Regions from separate parts of the Homo sapiens genome. Here region 2 is linked to region 1. The links are contacts of gene promoters, found by promoter capture Hi-C in human tissues and cell types (Jung and others, 2019). All regions are on one chromosome and are shown on one strand. The core of a region is centred on a gene start or on the middle of the fragment in contact, and the rest is flanking DNA. Distances in the headings are between cores, read along the strand shown.

Region 1 (7,894 bases), core at 1,682-4,181:
ATGAGCCACGACTGCACCACTGCACTCCAGCCTGGGTGAAGTCTAATTATATATATAAATATATATATTTATATATAAATATTTATATCTATGTTTTTATATATACTTCATCCTTAAGTCTAATAACAGTGACAGGCCTGGCCAGGCATGGTGGTTCATGCCTGTAATCCCGGCACTTTGGGAGGCAGAGGTGGGAGGATCGCTTGAGCTCAGGAGACCAACCTGGGCAACACAGAGAGACCCTGTCTCTACAAAAGATACAAAAATTAGCTGGGTATGGTGGCATGTGCCTGTGGTCCTAGCTACTAGCGAGTCTGAGGTGGGAGCACCTGAGCCCGGGGAAGTCAAGGTTGCAGTGCACCATGATCCACCTCTGCACTTCAGCCTGGGCAACAGAGTGAGACCCTGTCTCTAAACAAACAAACAAAATTTCTTTGGCTCCCATCCGTAAGTCCAAAAACAATGACAGGCTCTACAGTTTCAGCAGTTTCAAGGTATACCTTTGACAAAATCTTCACCTAGGACTCTGGCTAAAACTATTACTCTAGACCTGCTTGATCATCTGCAGCAGCTGCCTACGGTTCAGTACGCCTGATAAATGGCTGCTCAATTACTGACAACCCAGACTAAGTACGAATGATTTCAGAAAGGCTGGCTTCATTTATTGCTTGACTTCTAAAAACTGGAAAAAAAGTATAACTAGCCAGACATCTTCATTTAAAGGGAAAGAGACTTAAGGCTAAATAAGTGATTAGCCCATTAAAACCTAGATGATGGGTTGATGGGTGCAGCAAACCACCATGGCTCATGTTTACCTATGTAACAAACCTGCACGTTCTGCACATGTATCCTGGAACTTAAAGTATAATTTAAAAAAAAAAGGAAAAAAAGGAGTGATTAGCCCGAAGTGTTGATTAATGAGAACAAGAACCCCCAGGTGCCCTATGGCAGCCTAACAAAATCTGCAATTCCCAAAGATATTTCACTGGACATTCTCATAGTACAGTGGCCCATACATTCGAGGGATTCTTTCATGAGGTGCTCAGTATCAAGCCTCTGAGCCCAAGCTAAGCCATCATATCCCCTATGACCTGCACATATACATCCAGATGGCCTGAAGCAACTGAAGATCCACAAAAGAAGTGAAAATAGCCAGGTCCTGCCTTAACTGAAGATATTCCACCATGGTGATTTACTCCTGCCCCACCCTAACTGGTCAATTGGCCTTATGACAATACACGCTCCCCGCCCTTGTGATAATGTACTTTGTGATATTCCGCCCTTAAGAAGGTACTTTGTAATATTCTCCCCACTCTTGAGAATGTACTTTGTGAGATCCACCCCCTGCCCACAAAAAATTGCTCCTAACTCCACCGCCTATCCCAAACCTATAAGAACTAATGATAATCCCACCACCCTTTGCTGACTCTCTTTTCGGACTCAGCCCATACGCACCCAGGTGATTAAAAAGGTTTATTGCTCACACAAAGCCTGTTTGGTGGTCTCTTCACACGGACGCGCGTGACACTCAAGGATACAGTACCAGAACTAGCAGCTTTGTAGTCCAAGGACTGGTAAGGTAAGGTGACAGACTAGCATGGAGCTCACAAGCTGGGCTCCAGAGTCAGACTGCCTGGGTTGAGTTCAGGCTCTTGCACTTTCTAGTAGTGTGACTTTAGACACACTACTTAATCTCTCTATGCCTTGGTTTCCTCAAGTGTAAATCAAGGGCTATCATAATACTTACCTTAAGAGCTATCCTCAGAATTAAATGAGATAACAGTACAAAGTTCATTCAGCATAGTGGTCCCACACAAGATAAGTTTGTATTATTAACATCACATAGACTAATATTTACTGACAACACACACTGAACCCGCTTTGGTTAGCATAGCCAAACTTGGCTAGCTTTCATTACCACTGGAAAACCTGAGAGATGGAATTAGGAATTCTCTGGCAGGGCTGAAAAGTCTGGACCCATCGGCTTAAAGAAACTGATCCACCTCATGACCTGACCCTGGAAGCCTTCTCGCCCTTCACACCTATCTCAACTCCAGACTAGTCAAGAACAAAGGAGTGTAGTGGGGCCCTACTACTGCCAGGCTATGTGAGACTCTCTCATGTTATCTTTTATTCGTTGAGGAGACAGGGTACAAGTGCTTGGTGTGAATGTTGAAGCTGTTGTTAGGGCACCACTTTTCTGGCCTAGGGCTTCTTCCTAATCTGCAGCCTCCGAGCCGAGGGTCTGTGTCCCGGAGGCTCTGCCTGCAATTTCTGGACATCGGGTCCAGGGGAATGAAAGAGGGCATGAGACGCATGCCTCTGAGGCTGGACCCACTTCAGAGGCAGAGCGTCCCCACGAAAGACTCGGGAACCGGAAAAAGCCCTAAGGACGTTCCCTAGTGGCCTTGACCTTGGTGGGTGAGACTCAGTTCGCCATCCTGCTGGCGGCGGGCGATGACACAGCCCCTCAGCCAGGACGAGTATGTGGGCTGAGCGCGAGACGGGGTCTCGGAGGACTGCTAACCCCACTACGGTGGCCTCCTCGGGGCCCCCGTTTCCTCTTGAGCGTGCGGGGGCCTCTGGCCCTACCCGGACACAGTGCACGCGGCGCACTGGCCTTCAGGAGCTGGGGCGGAGGCTGGCCCCGGAACCCCCGGCGGGAGGGTCTGGGCGGTGGGGACGCCTCCATCGGGCGGCTGGCGTGCACGTCGCCGGGGTCACGCGGCCTCCCCGACGGACCCGAGCCTCCCGTGGCGGGGGTGGGGCGGCCACCGCCAGCCCGGCCCTCCCGAACGACCGGGCTCGGCCTCAGCCCCCAGAGCGTCCAGCCGCTGGCCTCACCTCCCTGCGCACGTTCAGCAACGAGTAATAGTCTTCATTGTCCAGCTCCTCCTCGCTCAAGGCCGTCGCCATCTTCGCAACCTTTCACCCCGCCAAACCGGCAAGGCCGTGCTCAAGAGGGGCCAGTGATCCGCGTCAGGGACAGCGCGGGCCAGCCCGGCTGCGCCACAGCGGCCCCTGGCGGCCCGGAGCCGTCCGCGCCCGGCGGGAGTGCGCCTGCGCTTTGCGCCCCCGCGCGGCCTAGGGCGGGACGCGGCGCCTAGGCAGCCCTGGCGGGGTGACCACGCGGGTGTCTCTTCGTGCTCCCAATGGACGCGTGGCACGCGGCGTGGCTGCGTCCTCGGGGGCCTGAGATCCAGCCAGGACTCCCTAGGGCTTTTCCTGTACTAGAAAGGGAAACTTTGCTTTTTTTTTTTTTTTTTGAGACGGAGTCATACTCTGTCGCCCAGCCTGGTGTGTGTGCAGTGGCGCAATCCCGGCTCACTGAAGCCTCCACCTCCCGGGTTCAAGCGATTCTCCTGCCTCAGCCTCCCGAGTAGCTGGGACTCCAGGCGCGCGCCACCACGCCCAGTTAATTTTTTTGTATTTTTGGTAGAGACACGGTTTCACCATGTTGGCCAGGCTGGTCTGAGGCTCCTGAACTCAGGAGATCCTCGGCCTCCCAAAGTGCTGGGATTACAGGCATGAGCCACCGCGTCCTGCCTAGAAAGGGAAACTTTGAAGTCACCTCCAGGAGATTGTCATCCTCTGGGAGACAAACCCCTGTGATACCACCTGTTACCCCACTGGCCCCAAACTCCTGGAAGAAGCGCGAGGTGCCCCCAGTGCAGGGTGCATCCGGATCCTAGATATCCCCCAAATGACATTTGTTCCTACCTCCATTGTCTTTTCTCTTGGCCACCCAGAAGCCTTCCTGCCCAGAACAGGCCTCCTCATTTTAGTTATTTGTTATTGCTCTAATTTAGGAGCACCTGGCCATCTTTTCTGCTGCTTAAATGACAAAGCAATAACTATTTGGTTCCTGATATAATTGTCTCTGGCAGGCATGTGTACCTGCAGTCCCTACCCCAGAGCCATTCTCCTGTAAATTTCTCCCTTATAATTTATCGGTGGAGTCTAATTGATTTCAACCTGGTGCCTGCTGTTTGGTGCATTATTAAAGATGTCTTGGTTACAACAATCTAAATAATTTAAAGGTCTTCGAAATGACGCCATTGTCAAGGGAAGGTGGACAGCAGCCCACTCTTGCCACCTGTTTGGTTCCCGCTGACCTGCGCAAGTCTCAGAAACCTTTGTTGTTCCTTCACTAACCACCAGTCCATAGCCATCCCCGTTGCCCTTCATAAGCAGGTCTCCTGGGAAGCCCCGAACACCTGTCTGTGGATTTGAGAGGCTGATTTCTTTCTCTTTCTAATTTTTGGCCAGATGTGCACCATCTGGGCCTGTGTCTCATCCCTTCCAAGTTGCCCAGCCCTCTTAGGATCTTTTGGCATGAGACACTTCGGTGTGCTGAGACAGATTGTTCGGGTGGGTTGAGTCAGCCTGAAACAAACTGTCAGCCCAGGTTGTAAATTAAGGGCTATTTCTTTAGTTGTGTGAAGCTTCTCCACAACAGCTTCCATGGTCCATCAGCTCTTCCAGCAATGTTATGGGCTTTGCCTTTTTCTCCTTTGCAGAGAAAAGAGCTGTGGTTAGGGCCAAACTGCATGCTGACATTTGACAGTCTTTAAGAATTTCTTTCTTTTTTTTTTTTTTTGTTTGAGACAGAGTCTCACTCGGTCGCCCAGGCTGGAGTGCAGTGCCACGATCTTGGCTCACTGCAACCTCCGCCTCCCGGGTTCAAGCGATTCTCCTGCCTCAGCCTCCCAAGCAGCTGGGACTACAGGCGTGCGCCATCACGCCCAGCTAATTTTTGTATTTTTAGTAGAGACGGGGTTTCACCATATTGGCCAGGCTGGTCTCGAACTCCTGACCTCGTGATCCACCTGCCTCGGCCTCCCAAAGTGCTGGGATTACAGGCGTGAGCCACCGCACCCGGCCAAGAATTTCATACAGAGAGACTGGGGGTAAAAACAACAATGTGGAGACATTCCTTTTTCCCTTAGGTTTTTTTTTCTTTTTTCTTTTTTCTTTTTTTTTTGAGATGGAGTCTCGCTCTGTCGCCCAGGCTGGAGTGCAGTGGCACGATCTCGGCTCACTGCAAGCTCCACCTCCCGGGTTCATGCCATTCTCCTGCCTCAGCCTACTGAGTAGCTGGGACTACAGGCGCCTGCCACCACGCCTGGCTAATTTTTTTTTTTTGTATTTTTAATAGAGATGGGGTTTCACCATGTTAGCCAGGATGGTCTTGGTCTCCTGACCTAGTAATCCACCTGCCTCGGCCTCCCAAAGTGCTGGGATTACAGGCGTGAGCCACCGCGCCCGGCCTCCTTAGGTTTGTAGACATTAATTGGGCCATAATGCTTACTTGGGTAGAGAAGTTCTTTGCCATCCCTCCTCTGCTTTGGAAAACACAGCCTCTAGGAATTATATAAATGGAACATAACATATGTTTCACTACGCCCAGGTCTGTGTTTCTATGATTGAGAATGACCTGGTTTTTATCACCACTCAAACAAGATAAATAGTGACTCAGGAATGCTCTGTGGCTGTCCTCTCTTGGGCCCACGAGATTTTGTGTTATGGTTACTTGGAAAGTGGTGGTGATAAATAGAAAGCTAACTTAGATGCTCCACAGGCTTGAGGAATGTATCTGTTTCTGAGGCTGGCTCTCTCGTTTCTCTCCTCCAAAACCCTAATCTTCAACGGGCAAAATAATGGAAACCAAAGGCAGTACAAATTTATAAGTTAAAAACGCACATCCAACAAACTACTTACGCCGAGCAACTGACAAAACCCAGCTGCTTTAACTCATGCCTTGCACTTTGTTTTCTTTTTCTTTTCTCTTTCTTTTTTTTTTTTTTGAGACGGGGTCTCCCTCTGTCACCCAGGCTGCAGTACAGTGGTGCAATCATGGCTTGCTGCAGCCTCCACCTCTTCAAGCTTAGGTAATTCTCCCACCTCAGCCTCCATAGTAGCTAGGACTACAGGTGCCCGCCACCATACCTGGTTAAGCTTTGTATTTTTTGTAGAGACAGGGTCTTGCTACATTGCAGGGCTGGTCTGGAACTCCCGTCTCAAGTGATCTGCCCGCCTCAGCCTCTCAAAGTGCTGAGATGACAGGTGTGAGCCACCGTGCCTGGCCTTTTGGTTTCTTTTTGTTGGGTGAAACCACAAAACAGTCTGTAACATAGCTGTAAAGCAAAACTTAATAGGTGACATTTAAATATAAACTGATGTAATATATTTATGTAACTATACATACATGGGCATATGTATTTTATATTTACGCAAATATTATATGAGATATACGCATTTATGCAACTGCTAACAAATTCTCTCATCTTTATTTTATTTATTCTTTTGAGACAGAGTCTCACTCTGTTGCCCAGGCTGGAGTGCAGTGACATGATCTCTGCTCACCACAACCTCCACCTCCTGGGTTCAAGTGATTCTCATACCTCAGCCTCCCGAGTAGATGGGATTACAGGCATGTGCCACCACGCCCAGCTAATTTTTGTATTTTTAGTAAAGACAGGGTTTTGCCATGTTGGACAGGCTGGTCTTGAACTCCTGACCTCAAGTGATCTGATCACCTTGGCCACCCAAAGTGCTGGGATTACAGGTGTGAGCCACTGCACCCAGCCAATTTTTTTTTTTTAAGGTGGAGTCTCACTCTGTCTCTCAGGCTGGAGTGCAGTGGCACAGTCTTGGCTCACTGCAACCTTGGCTTCCTGGGTTCAAGCGATTCTCCTGCCTCTACCTCCCAAGTAGCTGGGATTACAGGCGCCTGCCACCATGCCCAGCTAATTTTTGTATTTTTAGTAGAGATGGGGGTTTCGCCATGTTAGCCAGGCTGGTCTCAAACCCCTGACCTCAGGTGATCCGCCTGCCTCGGCCTCCCAAAGTGCTGGGATTACAGGCTTGAGCTAGCATACCCGGCCCCATCTTTAAATAGTAAACATAAGAATATTTACCTCCACCATGATTCATATGCAGAATGACCCCAAAACATTTTGGCTTCCAGCACAGCTACTCTGTGTAGCCGCTCAGGAAGGTTTCTCTGTTAATGGCTCAGTCCAGTTCTGGGACCCTCCCTATAGCACTGGAGGTAGGTTGCCAGATGAAATACACTATGCTCAGCTATATTTGCATTTTAGATGAACAATGAAGAATTTTTTAGTATAAGTATACCAAGGACTGGGTGCAGTGGCTCATGCCTGTAATCACATCACTTTGGGAGGCCAAGGTGGTCAGATCTCTTGAGCCCAGGAGTTCAAGACAAGCCTGGGCCACATGGTGAAACCCCCAACTCTACACAAAATGCAAAAATTAGCCAGGCATGGTAGCACATGCTTTTGGTCCCAGCCACTTGGGAGGCTGAGATGGGAGGATCACCAGAGCCCGGGGAGGTCGAGGCTGCAGTGAGCTGTGATAATGCCACTGCACTCCAGCCTGGGTGACAGATTGAGACCCTGTCTCAAAAAAAAAACAAAACATATATATATATATACATACACACACACACACACACACACATCACATTGTATGGGGATGTATACATATACTAAATAACTACTTTTCTGGGAATCCTGCTTTATTTTTTTATTTTATTTTATTTTTTTGAGATGGAGTCTTGCTCTGTTGCCCTGTCTGGAGTGCAGCGGCATGATCTTGGCTCACTGCAACCTCCGCCTCCTAGGTTTAAGCAATTCTGGTGATCAGCCCACCTTGGCCTCCCAAAGTGCTGGGATTACAGGCGTGAGCCACCATACTGGCCAGAATCCTGTATTTTGATTTGTAACCCCAGCTGGAGGCCTTGCAGCCCTTCCCCCTTTTCCTGAGTAACGCTCCTGAGAGCAGAGGTGGGCAGCCTGCCCCACCCCTTCTATAGCCAGGCTGAATCCACACCCTCTCTATAATTCAGGAGGAAAAATTACCTATAATCTTT
Region 2 (7,894 bases), core at 1,386-3,885, 40 kb before region 1:
CCAGATGGCCACGTGGCTAACTTTGTCATCTGCTTCCCATCCTTCCTCCAGTGGCACCTTTTCAGTGAAGCCTGACTACTCTAATTAAAACTGCAGGCTGGGCATGGTGGCTCACACCTGTAATCACAGCGCTCTGGGAGGCCGCGGCGGGTGGATCACCTGAGGTCAGGAGTTTGAGACCAGCCTGGCCAATATAGTAAAACCTCGTCTCTACTAAAAACACAAAAACATGAGCCGGGCATGGTGGCATGCACCTGTAGTCCCAGCTACTCGGAGGCTGAGGCAGAAGAATTGCTTGAATCCAGGAGGTGGAGGTTACACTGAGCCAGGACAGTGCCACTGCACTCCAGCCAGGGCAACAAGAGTGAAACTCTGTCTCAAAAACAATACCAAGGCCGGGCACGGTGGCTCACGCCTGTAATCCCAGCACTTTGGGAGGCTGAGGCGGGCAGATCACGAGGTCAGGAGATCGAAACCATCCTGGCTAACAAGGTGAAACCCCGCCTCTACTAAAAATACAAAAATTAGCTGGGCGTGGTGGCAGGCGCCTGGAGTTCCAGCTACTCGGGAGGCTGAGGCAGGAGAATGGCATGAACCCGGGAGGCGGAGCTTGCAGTGAGCCGAGATTGCGCCACTGCACTCCAGCCTGGGCAACAGAGCAAGACTCTGTCTCAAAAACAAAAAAAAAAACCAAAATCAAAACAAAAAAACTGCAGCCTTCCCCACTTCCTTCGCTTTATGTACCCCCCACATCATTTCTCTCTCCTTCTAATATATAATTTTTTTTTTTTTGAGACAGAATCTCACTCTGTTGCCCAGGCTGGAGTGCAGTGGCGAGATCTCAGCTCACTGCAACCTCTGCCTCCCAGGTTCAAGTGATTCTCCTGCCTTAGCCTCCCAAATAGCTGTGACTACAGGAGCACGTCACCAAGCCCGGCTAATTTTTGTATTTTTAGTAGAGACGCGGTTTTGCCATGTTGGCCAGGCTGGTCTTGAACTCCTGACCTAGATGATCTGCCTGCCTCGGCCTGCCCAAGTGCTGGGATTACAGGCATGAGCCACCACGCCCAGTCTTAATATATAATTTATATATTGCATTTACTGCAGCTTCTCTGTCCCTCAACTAGATTATTCAGCTTCATGGCAGGATTAGGTTGTCTGTTTTATTCTCTGCGGAATGTTCACATTCCTAAAGTGTCTGGCACATTACAGGCACCCAAATTAAATTACTTTGCGAATAAATCAACCATTTTTACCCACCTCCAACCCACAAAATTGCTAATATTAAACCAAGTCAACGAAAGATGACCATTTTCCCTGATTCCCCCCTTTCGTAGCTAGCACATTTCTCCCTGTTAAATGTTATTTTGCAGTTTAATCCCTTCATTCTTGTTCACTGGGCTCTTTTAGAACCTTCTGCCTTGGGTCAACTGTGAATGTGATAAACACGTCTTCACTGACATCACTCAGAAATTCTGAGCCTGAGTTACAGCCTTTCTCCCACAATGAGAAACTTCTTACCAGGTAGGAAATGATGTATTTGTACTCGTTGAGTAGAATCAGTTGTTTATTCAGCCAGGAATGTACCATTCTAAATTCTTTATTTTTTGGTTTCAAATCTTCTTAAAAACATGTAAAACATTTAACTGACAAATAGAGACTGCACACGTGCCAGGTGTACAGTGTGCTGATTTGATCCACGCAGACACTGTGTAGTGATGGTCACAATCACGTTAACACATTCACCACCACCCAGGTGGAATGATTTTCATGTTTATATTTATCTGGCCATGAGGGTAACATAAGAAATTTCTGTCAACTGCAATCTCAAAAGGAACTCTTTACTAACTGAAAATTCCACCAAAAGAGGTGATACGAGGCAATGTGAAATTCACCTGTTTTATAACTGGTGAACCCAGCATGGCACTCATGACGCTTCCCACAGAATCACTTTATCTCAAATGGAAGTCAGAGCCTGTCCTCCCCGTATAAACAGTAGTCTTTAATTCTGAAACCTTGTTTGTGAGCGATTATGCTGACATGAGGGGGTGAAAACAGCCCTCCGACGGATACTCATTTCAAGACAAACAGCTGTTTTACCTTTGAATCCCTCTATGCCTTCTATCCCGATTGCCAAGACCACTCTTCTTCTCCAGGGTTTCAGTTTCATTATCACAGTGCTTTCCCAGACCTGATTAACCAGGCTCTGGTCCCTTTTCTCCTTACAAGACAACTTCTCACGTTCTCCAATTGCAACAGCAGCCCATTTCTGCAGACGGTAAATTGCCCCTTCCTGCCACTACGCACAACAAACATATGGCTTAAACAACCCTTCTTCTGCCCCATCATCCTCTCAGCCAAGTCCAGGCAGTTTCATGACATCAGAATCACTTCTGCAGAACAGACTGAAGTCATAACCATGGGCGACTTTGCTGGCTACGGTTATTAGCCAGGGCAACCCCAACATCCTTTAAAAATAATCAAGTGATGCACGCTTACATCTTTATGAAAACATTTTGGCATTTAAAAATATTTTTATGGTTACATGCCTTCCTTGATACGTTATTCAGATGGGGTCTCTCTCTGTCACCCAGGCTGGAGTACATCTTGAAGGCTGGAGCCAGGCTGGCACGATCCTGGCTTACTGCAACCTCCACCTCCAGGGCTCAAGCATTCCTCCTGCCTCAGCCTCCCGAGTAGCTGGGACTACAGGAGCACGCCACCATGCCCAGTTAATTGTTTTTTGTTTTTTGTTTTTTTTTTTTGTAGAGATAGGATTTCACCATGTTGCCCAGGCTCTTGCTACATTATTTTTATTTATTTATTTAGAAACGGAGTCTTGAGCTTGTTGCTCAGGCTGGAGTGCAGTGGCGCGATCTCGGCTCACTGCAACCCCCGCCTCCCAGGTTCAAGTGATTCTCCTGCTTCAGCCTCCCAAGCAGCTTGGATTACAGGCGCCTGCCACCACGCCTGGCTAATTTTTGTATTTTTAGTAGAGATGGGGTTTCACCATGTTGGTCAGGCTGGTCTCAAACTCCTGACCTCAGATGATCCACCCACCTCAGCCTCCCAAAGTGTTGGTGAGAGGTGAAGCCAGCTGGACTTCCTGGGTCAGGTGGGGACTTGGAGAACTTTTCTGTCTTACAAATGTTACCAATCAGCACTCTGTAAAAACGCACCAATCAGCGCTCTGTCGCTAGAGGGTTGTAAATGTACCAATCAGCACTCTGTAAAAACGCACCAATCAGTGCTCTGTGGCTAGCTAGAGGATTGTAAATGCACCAATCAGCTCGCTGTAAAAAGCACCAATTAGTGCTCTGTGGCTAGCTAGAGTATTGTAAGTGCACTAATCAGCACTCTGTAAATGGACCAACCGGCACTCTGTAAAATGGACCAATCAGCAGGACATAGGCAGGGACAAATAAGGGAATAAAAGCTGGCCACCCCAGCCAGCAACAACCTGCTCGGGTCCCCTTCCACACTGTGGAAGCTTTGTTATTTTGCTCTCCACAATAAATCTTGCTGCTGCTCACTCTGGGTCCGCACCACCTTTAAGGTAACACTCACCGCGAAGGTCCATGGCTTCATTGTTGAAGTCAGTGAGACCATGAACCCACCAAAAGGAATGAACTCTGGACATATTGGGATTACAGGTGTGAGCCCCCATGCCTGGCCGATACATCATTTACATTTTTTTCTAATAAAGCTGAATTGTGTCTCTCAGCTATTACACAAACCATGCTGATGATGGAGTTTTCTAGATCAGAGAGGTCTTGCCAAAGAGTGTATATCAACCTCTGTAATAGCAAAAATGGCCAGGAAATAATGTAAATCTCCATCAAACTATTTTGTCATAGGGTCAAAAAAACTAAAGCAATATATGCCCGCAGAGACAGTCAAACTCCTTTGCCCCCACACCCCCAAACAAACCTAACTTAATCATCTGCTCCACACAGGATCTAAACAAGATCACGAAGGAGGCAGCAATGAAGTCGGACAAGCTGCCTGGGATCAAGTTGCCTTCTAAATATGCTCAAAGTGGCTGCCCTCCACAGAGGGAGAAGATTTATGGGTATTAAGGAAAAAAGGAATTAAAATAATCAATACGAAGTGAATACAACACAGAACGACACTGTTACATGATCTTAAGTCCTTAAAATGCAAGAAATGCGGATGGATTATGCAAATAAAACAGAAATCCGAAGATGGCAGGAGGATGCCCAGGGTGGTCCAGTCAGGTCTAGTTTCGCATACTGCTCTCAGGTATGAACCCACGTCCTGCCCAGCCACCAATTCTCTCCCTGACGCCAGTTCAATGTGGAGGGCCCTAAAGACACTGGGACCCCAGCAACCCAAGGGTGGCTTTTTCCAGCAGGACATACAGACAGGAATTTACTCCCACAGGGCAAAGCAAAGGCAGAAAACAGGTGATTAGAGCTAAGGACTGTGGGGTCCAAAGACTCAACCCAGAAAGCGGGCCTCCCATTTCATGGAGGCAGAAACTGGACTAAGAATGCAGAAGGGACTTGATCAAGGGCACAGACAGGAAGGTGGAATCTGAGTCTGGACGCAGGGCCCTGGACACCAAGTCCAAGGCTCTCCCATGCTGCCTCCCATGGATGTGCCTGTGTTCCTGCATGTGTGTGTGTGTGTGCATGCACGTGTTTCATCAGCTGGAGCCAGCAGGCAAAGTGGACACACGCCGGGGCTGGGGATTTTACACGTTCCTTCCTGGGCACCATGGTGCCTGGTAAGGCACATTCCACACTAGTCCATATCACAGTCAGCCATACTGCAAACAGCACCGGGCCTGGCCCCAGGCAAAGGCTGCAAGAATGGTTCGAAGGCCATTTTCTTTCTTTTTTTTTTTTTTTTGAGACAGAGTCTCACTCTGTGGCCCAGGCTGGAGTGCAGTGGTGCGATCTCAGCTCACTGCAAGCTCTGCCTCCTGGGTTCACGCCATTCTCCTACTTCAGCCTCCTGAGTAGCTGGGACTACAGGCGCCTGCCACCACACCCGGCTAATTTTTGTATTTTTAGTAGAGACAGGGTTTCACCGTGTTAGCCAGGATGGTCTCGATCTCCTGACCTCGTAATCCACCTGCCTCGGCCTCCCAAAGTGCTGGGATTACAAGCGTGAGCCACTGCGCCCGGCCTCAAGGGCCATTTACAAATCCCAACTCACAGGTCCCACCATTCCTGACCAAGCCAAGAATTTCCTCCTCAGTGTTGAATGAAACACCACCACCACATTTAGTTCTGAACGTCATTTTGGTACCAGTACCACTTTGCATTTATATAGCAAGATTATCTTTCCCTAATAAATTAACATCTATTTCATGTGTTTTCAGTCTTTTCACAACTTGGCACAGTAGTCAGGACAGACGTCCTCATTTTACAGAAGAGAAAAGGGAGCACTGTCAAACGGCTCACTCTGTGTCCTGCCTCCTGCTGGCAGCTGTACCTTCTAACCTGGGCTTTTCCTCACTAGGCCTTTTTGCTTGGTAGATACATCAATCTACTGGAAATCCCTACCTAATCTGCTCTTATTGACGAAAACAGAGAGAAATATGCACCCGCGTTTCAGGCGGCAATATCACGCACGGGATACAGCCTGCAAACCCCTCTGAGCTGAGGTCCTCTGTGGGGGGTCCAGCTGACAGGTTGACCTCTAAGTCATCAAAAGTGTCCTTCTGTTTTTGTTTAAGACAGGACCTTGCTCTGTTGCCCAGCTGGAGTGCAGTGGTGCAATCACGGCTCACTGCAACCTTGAACTCCTGGGCTCGGGCAACCCTCCTTCGTCTGCCTCCCAAGTAGCCTGGACTACAGGTATGTGCCACTGTGCTCAGCTAATTTGTAAATATTTTGTAGAGATGGGGGTCTTGTTATATTGCACAGGCTGGTCTCAAACTCCTGAACTCAAGCAATCCTCCTGCCTTGGCCTCCCAAAGTGCTGGGATTACAGGCATGCACCACCACGCCCATCCTCCATGGTCTCCTTAAAGCAGAGATCACCCCTTTCTTCTCAGGACAAGGATGTTTGCTCATCTTGAAAGGCAAAAAAACCCCTCAGAAATGGAAAGAAAGATATACCTCAAATCCTCTCCTTAAAATGCTGGACAGCCAACATCTGGTTATCACTCAATATTTCTGATTAGAAAATGTTTTATGTATTTGGAAGCAGTTTTATGGAAGTAGCAAAGTATAGGACATTTTAAAAATCACTTGCATGCCTGTGTGAGATGGTCACAGCTGTGCTCCCTCATTCCACAGAAACATGGCCTGCAGACACATTTGCATAGAGTCCCAATAAGCAACTGCCACACACCCCCAGATGGCCGATTTGATCATGGGACACGGATGCAGGATGATAGTGAGGTTCTCTTTCCCTTTCACTGCTCCTAACACAGCAAACCTCCAGCCAGAACATCAAAAACACCAAAGGAACAGCCTGCTCTTGCCAGGCACCCCCACCTCCCCCATCCCACCTCCATCTGCCAATACCGACCTTCCAAGCCAGACCTCCCTCCGGGCACCTGGCTGGGAGATCCAAGCAGGAACCATGAGCACAGCTCAGGGCACCTCGGAGATTTTCAACTCTCCCAATTATCCTAAACTCCCTGGCTCGGTTCACCCAGGGTTTTGATTCTCTACCTCCATCTGACCAAAAGGTAACCCTGCACTTCTGTTGAGGGGGAGAGTGAGTAGATGGGAGCAGAGGTGTTACCATTTTCAAATATACACTTTTTTCCCAAGAGAATTAAATCATTTATTGATTACACATGATAATGAGTGATACACAAGCTTCATTCCCATCCATAATTTTATCTGGTCAGATATACTTTGAAATGTGGGATTCAAAGAGATGGACATGTTCTGGATATATGGTCCTTTAAATGCTGTATGGGTCTTAAATAAACTGCTTTCCGGAATGTATTTCATCAGAGGTTTATCTTACTGTGCATCCCAGTTTAAGCCAGCATTTGTTTTTTTTCTTTCTTTTCTTTTTTTTTTTTTTTTTTTGAGATGGAGTCTCACTCTGTTGTCCAGGCTGGAATGCAGTGGCATGATCTTGGCTCACCACAACCTCCACCTCCCTGGTTCAAGCTATTCTCCTGTCTCAGCCTCCCAAGTAGCTGAAATTACTCGGGAGGCTGGTGGCCATGCACCACCATGCCTGGCTAATTTTTTTGTATTTTTAGTAGAGATGGGGTTTCACCATATTGCCCAGGCTGGTCTCGAACTCCTGACCTCAGGTGATCTGCCCGCCTCTGCCTCCCAAAGTGCTGGGATTATAGGAGTGAGCCACCGCACCCGGCCTATTCTATTCCTTTACAAGGTTTAAAGAAAATAATAATGCTACTTATAACTTTGTATGGCTTCTGCTCTCCTTCCAACAACGTTGATGATTTGACACAGATCATGGGAGAAGAGGCTGATGGAAGACCGGGGAGCTCCCAGCTCCTTATCATGACAGATACAGGCTCTCTGCCAGGCCATCCTGGCCACAGTGATAGGGTCTGGCCATTGAGCCCTCTTTTTAAACACAGCTGAACAGTACACCGGGCCATGTTTCATTAGCCATTCAGTGCAACTGGAATCTCAAAGTGACCAAGCTATCCTACTTGCCACAGAGCTGGGGCACACGTGCAGAACAACCTCCCCAGCAAACTGAAAGGAAAAAGAGAGCACACTTAGCATTGAAAAGTAACTCTGACTCAGTATTTAAAGGACTTAAACTCCATCGGTGATCTGGGACACCGATGCTGCTCAAACAACCCAGTGACCGGTGGTCACGGCACCAATGCCCTGGGGTGATGTGAGCAGGGACTTCTGCTCAAGGCCATGTGGACATGCCCTGAGCCCTCTGCATTATTTGGCTCTCCGTATCCTAA

Evidence for each region. Contacts are between HindIII fragments. The study calls those that stand out against the background at their distance.
Region 2: a contact is called between a fragment that was not itself captured here and the fragment with the promoter of DNAJC11 in region 1, in 1 of the 25 tissues and cell types used here (liver).

What each region holds. Positions count from the first base shown.
Region 1 is chr1:6,698,885-6,706,778 of GRCh38, forward strand. It overlaps DNAJC11 (DnaJ heat shock protein family (Hsp40) member C11), which reads right to left and starts at 2,932. Exons shown (of 16, transcript NM_018198.4): 1 at 2,845-2,932. The coding sequence starts at 2,916. RefSeq lists a silencer at 2,719-3,168. The HindIII fragment of the contact is 19,207 bases long and covers 1-5,165 here.
Region 2 is chr1:6,659,383-6,667,276 of GRCh38, forward strand. All of the region lies in intron 4 of DNAJC11 (DnaJ heat shock protein family (Hsp40) member C11), which reads right to left. Among named protein-coding and RNA genes, the nearest start is that of THAP3, 38 kb to the left of the region's middle. The HindIII fragment of the contact is 5,021 bases long and covers 126-5,146 here.